3 separate regions of the Homo sapiens genome follow, and regions 2 and 3 are each linked to region 1. The links are contacts of gene promoters, found by promoter capture Hi-C in human tissues and cell types (Jung and others, 2019). All regions are on one chromosome and are shown on one strand. Each heading gives the region's core, a stretch centred on a gene start or on the middle of the fragment in contact. The rest is flanking DNA. Distances are from core to core; before and after follow the strand shown. Region 1 holds the start of TMCC2 (transmembrane and coiled-coil domain family 2). Region 2 overlaps NFASC (neurofascin). Region 3 holds the start of CDK18 (cyclin dependent kinase 18).

Region 1 (3,209 bases), core at 297-2,796:
CAATGGGGCCCGGCACGGTGGCTCACGCCTGTAATCCCAGCACTTAGGAAGGCCGAGGCGGGTAGATCACCTGAGGTCAGTTCAAGACCAGCCTGGCCAACATGGCGAAACCCCGTCTCTACTAAAAATACAAAAATTACCCGGGCGTGGTGGCGGGTGCCTGTAATCCCAGCTACTCTGGAGGCTGAGACAGGAGAATCGCTTGAACCGAGGAGGTGGAGGTTGCAGTGAGCCGAGATCGCGCCACTGCACTCCAGCCTGGGCGACAGAACGAGACTCCGTCTCACACACATACACACACACACACACACACACACACACACACACACACACACACAAAGATCCCAATGGGTAGAGACTTACTCAGCAAGGAAAACTAATGGTCACCTGCTGTCCACTTTTTGGTTAGCATCTTGGATTTCTCCAGCCCTTTGTCTGCGAATAACACTTCACACATTATTCAAACAATCTCGGATGGGTGAGTCACTAAAACGCTTGCTGAATAATGGGGAACAAACACAGAGACCTGACACGGAGCTGAAAGACAGAGGCATAAATGGTACCTGACGTCCCCCCTGGGGTGCCAGCAAAGCATCCGCTCATCCTCTCTGACCTTTGCCTGGCTTCCCCCCTCACTTTTATCCTGTTAAAGCACTTCTGCGTGGGGTGGCGAGAGCTAAGTCGCGGGCTGGGCTTGCCGGGGGGATGGTCTGCGCTCACCTTTAAATCAGGAGGCTTGCTTCGGGGACCTGGGTTGGGCGCCGCGGCAGCGCCGGCGTCTGAAGTTGGCCCGCCAGCAGAGTTAGCACCCGTGGTCTCCCCAGGCCGGAGGTCCGCGCCCGGCAGGTGGGAAGCGGCATCTTCCAGCCCAGCTCCATCCTCCTCGCCCTGTTGTTGCTGCAGCTCGTCCGATCTGCACCTCTTCATGGTGTATGTGGGTCGGCAAGGGGAATCTGTCCTTCCAGCGCGCCGTCTTGGGGAAGACCGCACCCCCTCTTATATTCATATGAGGCCTGGGGTCTAAATTATTAACAAGGAGGGGAGATGGCAGACCACAATTTCTTGAATTAAAAAAAAAATTCTTAAAGGCGGGTGAGGGAGGGGCGAGAAGGGGGAGCCTTGGTTATAGCTTGGAATAGTTCATTTCGACCTGGGGAGCGAAGACAGGTCACAGTCGAGGCTGGGCAGCAAGAGTCCTTGGGCAGTCATTGCAGGAGGGAGAAGGGAGACAACCCCCGGCCCCCAAACTTTCTGCTTCAGGGCATGGGCAGGACGGAGAGGAGCTGGGCGGCACAGCGCATCCCTCCCGGCCGGCCGGGCTGCGGGGCGAGGCGGGGCGCGGGGCAGCCGGCCGGGCAGGTCCTAGTCGGCCGCCATCGGCGCCGGCTGCAGCCCCCGGCCCTGCAACCGGCCCCTGCCCCGCATGGTCCGGCCGCGGAGCCCGCAGCGCGCCCGGCCCCCTCCCCGGCCCGCGCGCCCCGCTCCCCGCCTGACGCGCAGCCTGCCGCAAAGCCGCGACCGCGGCCCGAGCCCGCGGCGAGCGCGCAACCTACCCCGCCCGGCTGCCTCCGCCCGGGAGCGGGAAGGCGAGGCTAGGAGGGAGTGACAGCGGCAACCGGCCAATGGGAAGCCCGCGGGGCTGAGGGGGCGTCGCGCAGCTTCGTTTTTGGGGTTGGTTGCACCGTGCGATCCCCCAGGAGAGGGCTGGAGGACGATGCTGCTGCGTTTTTGCATTGCAGAGAGCGGGCTGCAGTTCAGGGGCGGGGGCGGCGGGCGTGGGAGTCGCAGTTTCGGCTCCAGCTTGAGGGACCCTGCCGAGGAGGGCTCGCCCAGGATTTCCTCCACCCATTCGCTTTATTTGGCGAGAAGGAGCACAAGAGGGATGTTTATTATCACTGCTTTTTGGGGCTCTTAACTTTGCACCTTCTAGCCATAAGGGAGACACCTATCCCCTCTAGGATACTTGGTCTGAGTTAAATCTATGCCTACATTCAGAGCTGCAAATGCCAAGGGGAGGGGGCGTTCTCTCCTCATCGCCCCGTCCCCCGCTTTAAGTGCATTATTTCTTAATGAGACTTTACTTGGCATAATTTATGCTCAGAAATTGGGAAGAATTTCATATAAAAACACAATAACGTATGTGAGAGTTCCTTACAAACTGTGAAGCAGCTTTTAAATAAGAAAGGGTATTAATGGCAGGAGGTTGCTACATATAGATGTGTGGAAAGGGAATGCTGTCTCTCTTTGCATAAATCTCAGCCAAACTGTGCTGAGTAATCTGGAAGCAGAAGAGAGCAAACGTTGGGGTTACCAAGATATGGAGAGTAGTAATAATAACAACCCCATCTGAGTGTCTATTGTATGCCTCCTGTGGACACAATGGATTTTACTCATCCAGCAACCAGTGGTTCACAAATTGTGATCCTTGGACTAGCAACTTCAGCATCACACGGGAACTTGATAGAAATGCAAATTCTTGGCCACCAGCCAGACCTAGAGAATCAGAAGTAGTGAGCCAAGAAATCTGTGTTTTGACAAGCCCTCCAGGTAATTCTGACACACACTACCCTTTGAGAACCACTGGCCTAGACAGTGAAGGGGCCACACGGTCTCTAAAGGATTTTACAGTTTACCAATCTCTTTCGCACCCATCATGCCATTGTAGCCTCACTTCAGTCTCACTAGTCGGAGTTTCTTGACTTTCTGTTCTGTCTTCTTCCCATTCCAACCACTCATTTTAATGTGTATCCTAGAAGAGACTAATTTGTTAAGAATTTACTTCAGCCAAGCAGCTACTTTCTAAACTAGGCAGCTCCACTTTTAGAAGATAGGAATTTAGGATGGGCTGGGAATGTGGAACCACCCCCCACATCTACCACAAAGAATCGAGCACAATGTGGAAACACAAAGCTATAAGCCTTTATTTAGCATTTTCAATGGTGAGGGGATGGCAGGATGCCAGTGTAGACCGTGGGCAGGACTAGACAGAACCGGTGGGGGCAGGTTCCCATGGTGCAAGGTTTCAAGCAGAGGAATATACTGCTCCCTGCCTGACTTGGCCCAGATAAGTGCAGCGGCCCCAAAGACCCTGAGCAAGTCTTGAGGGGCACGCGGTGGCCAGCAAATGGTGAGCATGCATTGACACATGTTCATGACCTGACTCGAAGCCGAAGGAAAGTGAAGGGATTTGGTTTAAGGAAGGGATTTGG
Region 2 (3,635 bases), core at 95-2,594, 260 kb after region 1:
TTTAACCCAAACCTCATATGCAGTAGTTGGAGCTTTTCTTCTTATGCAGTTCTCAGCACAGCTGAGGATTTGAACAGCTTTTGTTTCTCTGGTCTGCCCTACAATTTCTCCCTCTATGGTACTTTCTTCCTATAATTGCACCTGCTTTTTGCCCCTTGGCTTCTCTTTAAGTTCTGTCTGTCCTTCTTAATTTCAGAAGCATAGAAGAACTATCCAGGATACAGTCAACACTAAACCATTCCCTTTAAAACCAGTAATGGGTAACACTTGTTAAGTATCGAGAATGTGCCCAACACATACTAGGAACCATAAGCACATTCTCCTGTTTAATCTTCACAACAATCCTATGAGACAGGTAATACATCCATTTGGCAAATGAGAACATTAAAGTTCTGAGACACTAAATGACTTACTCAGCATCACTCAATGGTATGTCCCGGACCCTGGATTTAATTCAAGGCAGTCTACCTCAGAGCACACACTCTTAACCACTTGGTCTCCTCACCTGGCTGAATCCTAAGCGGCAAGTTACAATCTCAGACCAGATTCTCCTGCCACTCAGCAGGTCAGGGGGCACCTAGCAGTGTTCAGAGGATACCAATCCACTCTAGAAATCACTAAAACAAAATAGAAGTATGGGGTGGCCCTCCTGCTACAAAAGAGACGTGCCATATTTCAGAGCCAAACAGACAGATGCCCTGGGCACTTTTCATCAAGTCTCTCTGTCCAGATGCCTGCACTCCAGAAAGAAGTCATCCTCCTTCCTTCCATTTCCCTTTGATTTCTTGCTAGAAGCATCAGCCTAGTTGTCTTTTGTTCAAAATGTGTCTCCCTTTGACTTTATATCCTTTCCAGCAGCTTCATACTTGGGTCAGCTCCGTCCTACCCTGGATTGAGGACAAGGGGTCAATCTCCAGGTAAACTCTTGTAAGCTTTGCTTGTTTCATAGTCCTGGATGGATCTCATAAGTCCCACTCATTCTCTTGCAATAATAGTTTGATCAATGGTCACAAACTGGTTTAAGTGACTGGAATCACTCAAACTTATTCCATTGATAAAACAACTCTATGTGTACGTTCCCCTGTATGGCTTATCTTACATAAAGTGAGGAACTTAGACCAGATGGTCTCTAAGGGAACTTCTGGCTCTGATGCACTCAGGCTTACAGAATACTTCCTATAACAGATTACCTGGAATCCGATTTAGAACAAGGCCCATTCCATACCAGGGCTCTGGGGCTCTTAACACAATAGTAGTTGGCCCCATTATCTTGAAAACAAACAATGCTTAGAATCCAACAAAGGTCCCCTGATTCCTTGGGTAGTGAATCTCTTTGGCAGGATCTCAGTGTGGTTCTAGCTGCTTGGTGCCAAGTTAGAGCCTTTGCCTCTCTCCCTGGCTCGCGCTCCCTCATCCCATCCCCTTCTCCAGTCACTCATCATCCTTTGTATTAGCACATCACAGTGCAGACACTTCCTATCTGTTTCAGCCCACAGTGAGGTCCCTTGAGGACCTGCAGCCTCAGCTTCTGAGGCATAACTAATGATGGGGGCCAGCTGCCTCACCAGAGCCAGCAAATGATGGTGCCTCTGGCTGCTCAGGGAAAATAAGACATTCTTGAGCCATGGTGAGGGGTAACTCAGGTGTGGAAATAGCCAATTACCCTATTAATCAGACTGAGCAACCAGCTGTGTCATGAGTTAAAACCATGCCTCATTGTAATTGTTCCATGTCTCGCAAGTGTGGACTGGTGGGCATTTGATTTGCATATACTACCAAAGGAGGAGAGAGGCCTAGGTGAGAGGGTACGGTGGATGGTTTCACCTCATTTATACTCATCTTGAAAGAGAACTCAGAGCTGGACTCTTACTCCTATTGCCCAGATGGATTTTAAAGAGACACGGGACCTCACTGTGAAATGGTACTCCCGGTAACTAAGGTGAGATTACAAAGCAGGCAATTCCTATCTAGAGTTAACTGAACATACTAACAAGCTTTCTGTGTTCTTTCAACTACCAATAGGAACCAGACTTCCTGTTTTCTCTTCACTATGGAACTCACCTATTTTAAGATAGTCTCCCTTCATCCATTCTTGATTCCTAAGCTTCTACTTTTTCAGTAAAAGTTCCTGCTTTTCAAGAAGTTCTTTTGAAGTCCTACCCTGGTTTGAACAACTTGTTGAGAATTCAGCAACTTGAGGCATGCCTGTTAGAGGAGACCACACCACCAGGTGAGCCACCTCAAACCCCCACACTGCCTCCTGGCAGGCAGCCTTCTGGAGGTGTCACCTTGGCACCCTGGCTGGGCCAGCTGCCACCCAGCAGGAGTTAATGACGTGGTATCAGTCAAGTTAGGCAAACTGGGGTTAGCACAGGCAAGGTTACTCCCAAGGTTACCGCTGCGACTCACCACTGTACATGTCAGGGTGGTTTCTTAAGGACGAGTCATTATAAGGGTGGTCTGTAACAAACAAAAGAGGGTGAGCAAACAGGAGGCCACGGAGAAGTCACAGAGGCATAAACGGGGAGAGAAAACAAATGCAAAGCCAGAAAAACAACTGAGGAGGGCAGCAGTGGTCTTTTGCAAAGGAAAGACACGGCATATTTGGAAAGGCAATACGCTCAGTGAAGAACAAGCAACACAAAACAGCCCACAAAAGGAGAAAAAAAGGTTAAATCCTGCAAAAGAAGGCAATAATACAGTAATGGTTTTTTTAAAATTAAAGAAATTAGGTTTGAACTTTAATTAATTGGTCCTGCTATATTTTCAAACAAATGAGAGAAGGATTAGTGGTGTCCTGTAGCCATCTTTTGAACAACTCCTTCTTATCAAAATCCTCAGTTCCCAGGACTCTGGGTCAGGCTAGCTCTTGGAGCAGCTAAAGAGAAAGGAGTGTTAGTGAGCTCCGGGGAAGAGCAAAGTGCTGCCTGGGCAGAAGCTAAGCTGCAGGAGGTTGGTGGTAAATGGGAGGAGGTCATTGACCAAAAGAGTTGGGCCAAGGGGCCCTGGCCACACCCAGCAACATGTGTCACTGGAGTCTGCCCAGGTGGGCACCACTATGATCTTGGAGATGTCTCTGTTGGCAGAAAGCCCTCCTTGTGAGGATGCCGGGAGAGGTTCAGTGAGGTGGGGAGAACATCCCTGAGGTTCAGGCTTTAGAATTTAGAATTGGAGCTTGGGACAGGAGAAAGTGCAAGCTGTGAGTTCTACATTTCAGACTAGGAAAGTCCTCCTGAACGTTCTGGAGGTTCGAAGCTCTCTAGACTATGCAGGATTGAAGACATTCCTTATGGAGCAAGATCAGTGGCTTCAGTTCCAATGTTAGGTAATTCAAACTCGTGGGCATTTACTCCTTAATGAGAAAGACATTTCAGAAGAGGACACATCATCACGCCAGCGTCCTGAAGGAGCTTTTCCCTCTCTACCTCTGGTCCCTTCCAGCAACTGGGTTCAAATTGTGACAGTACTAAAAGGGGGTGGGGTATACAGCTGACTGGAAGCCAAGCAGATGGCCCTGAGGAGGCAAGAACATGGTCCAACTGCTCGAGGGACAACAGGGGCTCTGCCAAAACATTTGCATATTTGTCGACAGATCCAATCCCATTACAACTAGTTGCAAGAAGTATGAGAGTCCT
Region 3 (3,497 bases), core at 608-3,107, 280 kb before region 1:
TATTCAACAAATGGTGGCCACTAAGGCTTGTCTACTCTGCCTCTGGCACCCCCGATAAGTTTGGGAAGAACTTCTTCTGGCACGCGTGGAGAGCTTCTTCCATTCTCCTGGCAGGGTATGGGGAGAGTCCTGGGGACCCAGTGGGGAGAGTCCTGGGAACCCAATGGTCAGGTACACCCCAGATTAAGGGTGGGGGAGGGGTCAGCCCCACAGCCTCCTCAGCTGCACAAGAGGTGGCTGGGAAAGGGTAACCCGAGATAGCAGCTTTGCTGTGGCAAGGTGACCCTCTCTCTGGAACGCCTTCAGGATGCAAACCCGGACCTGGAGCCAGTGTCGCCCTGTACTCCACCGACCCTCAGCACCCTCAGCACCGTTTTCCCAGGCCCCTCCCAAGGCCAGGCTAAAGGCAGGGGATCTCTGAGGACGTGCCAGTCCACCAGGCGCTCCAGGCATCCTCTCAGGCCCGTGTCCAGGAATGTGCTGCATGCCCATGCCCGGGTGGGGAATGCCACGCGAACATGCCGAAGCTCACTGGGTGCTGACACAGGAGGGGCAAGCCGGTGGTGTTAGTGAGTCACAGGGCCCAGGCTACAGCTGGGGAACTGCCGAGGGCTGGGCTAGGGGTGGGGAAGAAGGGGAGACAGTAGCAGATAGCGCGGAAGAGGTTCCAGGGCCTCTCACTCCCACAGTGTCAATCCTCCCACCCCGACTGCCGGGAGGTGCCCAGAGAGAATGAAGAGAGGCAGGGCTGGTGCCTAGGAGGGTGCTGACCCTGCAGCACAGAAAACCCCTCACTGTTTCTGCAGCCCAACTCCCACCCAGCACAAGGTCTGCAGACACCTTCAGGGAATCCCCGCCCCCCACAGGGCGAAAACAGAGGCCTCCAGTCCAGACCCGATTTTGGATTTCAGATTCCTGATGGTGTCCCTCAACTACAGCAGAATCCTCAAGGCACATCTCCTTAGCCCAACAGGTCACCGCCCACTCCCCCCGGCCCCACCCAGCCTCCTTTCCCTCTGCTGCATTAACCCTCTGTCGCCTGTTGATGAGGGGTGGAGGGGGGCACTGCCCCTTTGGTCTTCCGGGGTGGAAAGAGAGAAGCAGCAGCATTCCCCAGACCCCTGCCTCCCCCAGAACTGGGACCTGCAGGGCTTCACGTGTCCTTCCACGTTCTTCCCAGGGCTCCGGCCTCCCACCCCCTGCCTGCCGCTCTGGAAAGTTCACCAGAGCCCAGGAAGCCCTTCAAGGCAGCGATGTGGCCCCACACTCTCGGGTCCTTTGGTCCCTGGAGACTCCTGACCCTTGCCCTTCCCAGAATGAAGGGAGCTTAGAAAGCGCCTGGTTCCGGACTGGGTGGAAAACTTTGCTTTGTAGGGTTCAGACGGGAGCCCAGGGGCCAAAGTGATCCCAGATGGAGACTCCCTAAGGGGGCGCGGGGTCTGAGATTGCAAAATAACCCTCCCTCTCAAGCACCTGGAACTTACGAGTGGCCTTTCGAGGGCACCCCCCACCCCTCAACACACAACACAGTATCACACAGATCACGCCTCGTGATCTCTGCTCTCCCCTCGCCGCTCCGGTATTTCCCTCCAACCTCTCGCCTCAGGGCAAAAGCAAAACTGCGCCTTTAAGAGCCGTTCCGCTTACCTTTGCTCCTTATACCCGGCGCCGCGGTGCCCGCTCCTCCGACCTCCCCCTTCCTCCCAGGCGCACCGCCCGCGGGACTCACAGCGCGTGTCCTGGGGGCCGCGGTGCGCCCGCTCCCTCCCGGGCACGGGGCAGCTTCCCCTGCTCCGGAAAGGTGAGCAGTTCCCCAGAGAAGCTGCAACCTGAGCTGGCCGAGGAGGAGGTAGAAGGGGAGGGGAAGGGAGGGAGTGGAGGAAGGTGGGGAAGAGGAGGGAGGAGGAGGAGGAGGAGGAGGAGGAAGGAAAATGCCCGGCCCCCGCCAGAGTTTTTCACATGTACAAGTTGACTCCGCCCCCGGCCCTCCCGCCCTGCCCACAGCCGCTACCAATCCCCAGGGCTCCCTCTGCCCGGGTGCCCACCCCTTTCTCCCACTCTGGGAACCAGGGTCCAAGTGCCTCTTCCTGTTTCGTTTCTAAAACCGGCCCTGAGAGCCTTGGCTAGGGGATGAGGCCTTCTGGACTGGATCACCCCAGGACACCAAGGCGCCAGGGGTACACTGAGAGTGCCTGCCTGTCTCTAAAAGCGGTGCTCCTACCTCTCCTAGGTACCTCCCTGTACCTGGCGCCCTAGGAACGAATGTGCATGGACAGATTTTGGTGGTCATTTTCTTGACAATAGTAGCCCTCGGGCTCCCCTTCTACCCTATCCAGTGGGACTTGTCACTTACCTTTCCGGACAAAGTTCCCACCTCTCCAGGACCTGAATGAAGCCCTTGTTACCAGCCATCATTCACATTTCCCTCCCCGAAGGATAATTCAACTTGTCCTTTTGGAATTAAACTCCACAGGATATTTGAGAATCATCCAAGAAGGGTTACAGAATGGCTAGTTCAGCTAGTGGCACTCTCATTTTACAGAAGGGGAAACTGAGGCCCAGCAAAGCAATTGAACTGGCCTAAAGTGCCACAAGAGTTCATGGCGAGCCATGATTAGAACTCAGGCCAATGGCCATTGCACCCACATCATCTGACTTCAAGGATCAAAAAAAAAAACAAAACAAAAATCTGGGGATGGGGGTGAAGGGCACAGTGCCCCACCGCCAGGCCCCTCTCATCTCTGCTTCCTCCTGAGGGCTGTGAGGAGAGGAGGTGTGCCTTGGCTCTATGGCACCTCATCAAGGCAGTCTGTGTCCCCTGCCCTACCAGAGGGCTTGGCTGCTGCAGTCTGGGGTCTCCCACAGGGAAAGTCTCCTTAGGAGGGGGTGCTCCACAGTGTACATGTGCTTCTACCTGAACCCTTTCCCTGGGGACTGTGAGTTGTTGAGAATAGAACAGTTTCCTTCTGGAAGACATGGGCCTGAGGTCCCACTGTCAGCTGGAGACAGGAGAATGAAGGAAGACACTGGGCCCATGCATGAAAGTGACCTGTGGGTAGTTGACATCTCACAGAGGGCCTCCCAACTCTTTTTTTTTTTTTTACCTCGCTTTCTCTGCCAAGGCATGCAGATTTCCTGGGCACAGCACTTCCTAAAAATGAAACTGCCAAGTGTTGTCGGGGTGCATGGATCCAGAGCCTTTAGGTGTGCAGCAACCTCCTGGCTCTGTAGTCCAGTGGATGGTGAGAAGCCTGGGGAGCAGGAGGCCATAAAGAGGTTTGGAAGGGGCAGGGAGGGAAAGGGAGAAGGACTATGGCCAAGGAACTGTTTACTGGCGGATTAGAGAGAGTGGGGCCAAAGGGTAGAATTTCAAGGAACTAGGGGGGTGAAGTCAAGAGGTCTCCACAAACACTTTCTCAACATCTCTTATGTGCCAAATGATAGCCAGGGCTCTGGGCACATAAGATGAGTATAACCCAGTCCCTGCCTTCAAGAAG

Evidence for each region. Contacts are between HindIII fragments. The study calls those that stand out against the background at their distance.
Region 2: a fragment that was not itself captured here is called in contact with the fragment with the promoter of TMCC2 in region 1 in 4 of the 25 tissues and cell types used here (IMR-90 fibroblasts, aorta, dorsolateral prefrontal cortex and 1 more).
Region 3: the fragment with the promoter of CDK18 here is called in contact with the fragment with the promoter of TMCC2 in region 1 in 1 of the 25 tissues and cell types used here (hippocampus).

What each region holds. Positions count from the first base shown.
Region 1 is chr1:205,226,283-205,229,491 of GRCh38, reverse strand. TMCC2 (transmembrane and coiled-coil domain family 2) reads right to left here and starts at 1,546. Exons shown (of 5, transcript NM_014858.4): 1 at 721-1,546. The coding sequence starts at 927. RefSeq lists a silencer at 1,446-1,625 and an enhancer at 1,756-1,895. The HindIII fragment of the contact is 10,382 bases long and covers 1-3,209 here.
Region 2 is chr1:204,960,933-204,964,567 of GRCh38, reverse strand. The region is part of intron 8 of NFASC (neurofascin); the gene reads right to left. Among named protein-coding and RNA genes, the nearest start is that of CNTN2, 80 kb to the left of the region's middle. The HindIII fragment of the contact is 5,464 bases long and covers 1-3,635 here.
Region 3 is chr1:205,503,029-205,506,525 of GRCh38, reverse strand. It overlaps CDK18 (cyclin dependent kinase 18), which reads right to left and starts at 1,857. Exons shown (of 16, transcript NM_212502.3): 1 at 1,730-1,857. The HindIII fragment of the contact is 16,948 bases long and covers 1-3,497 here.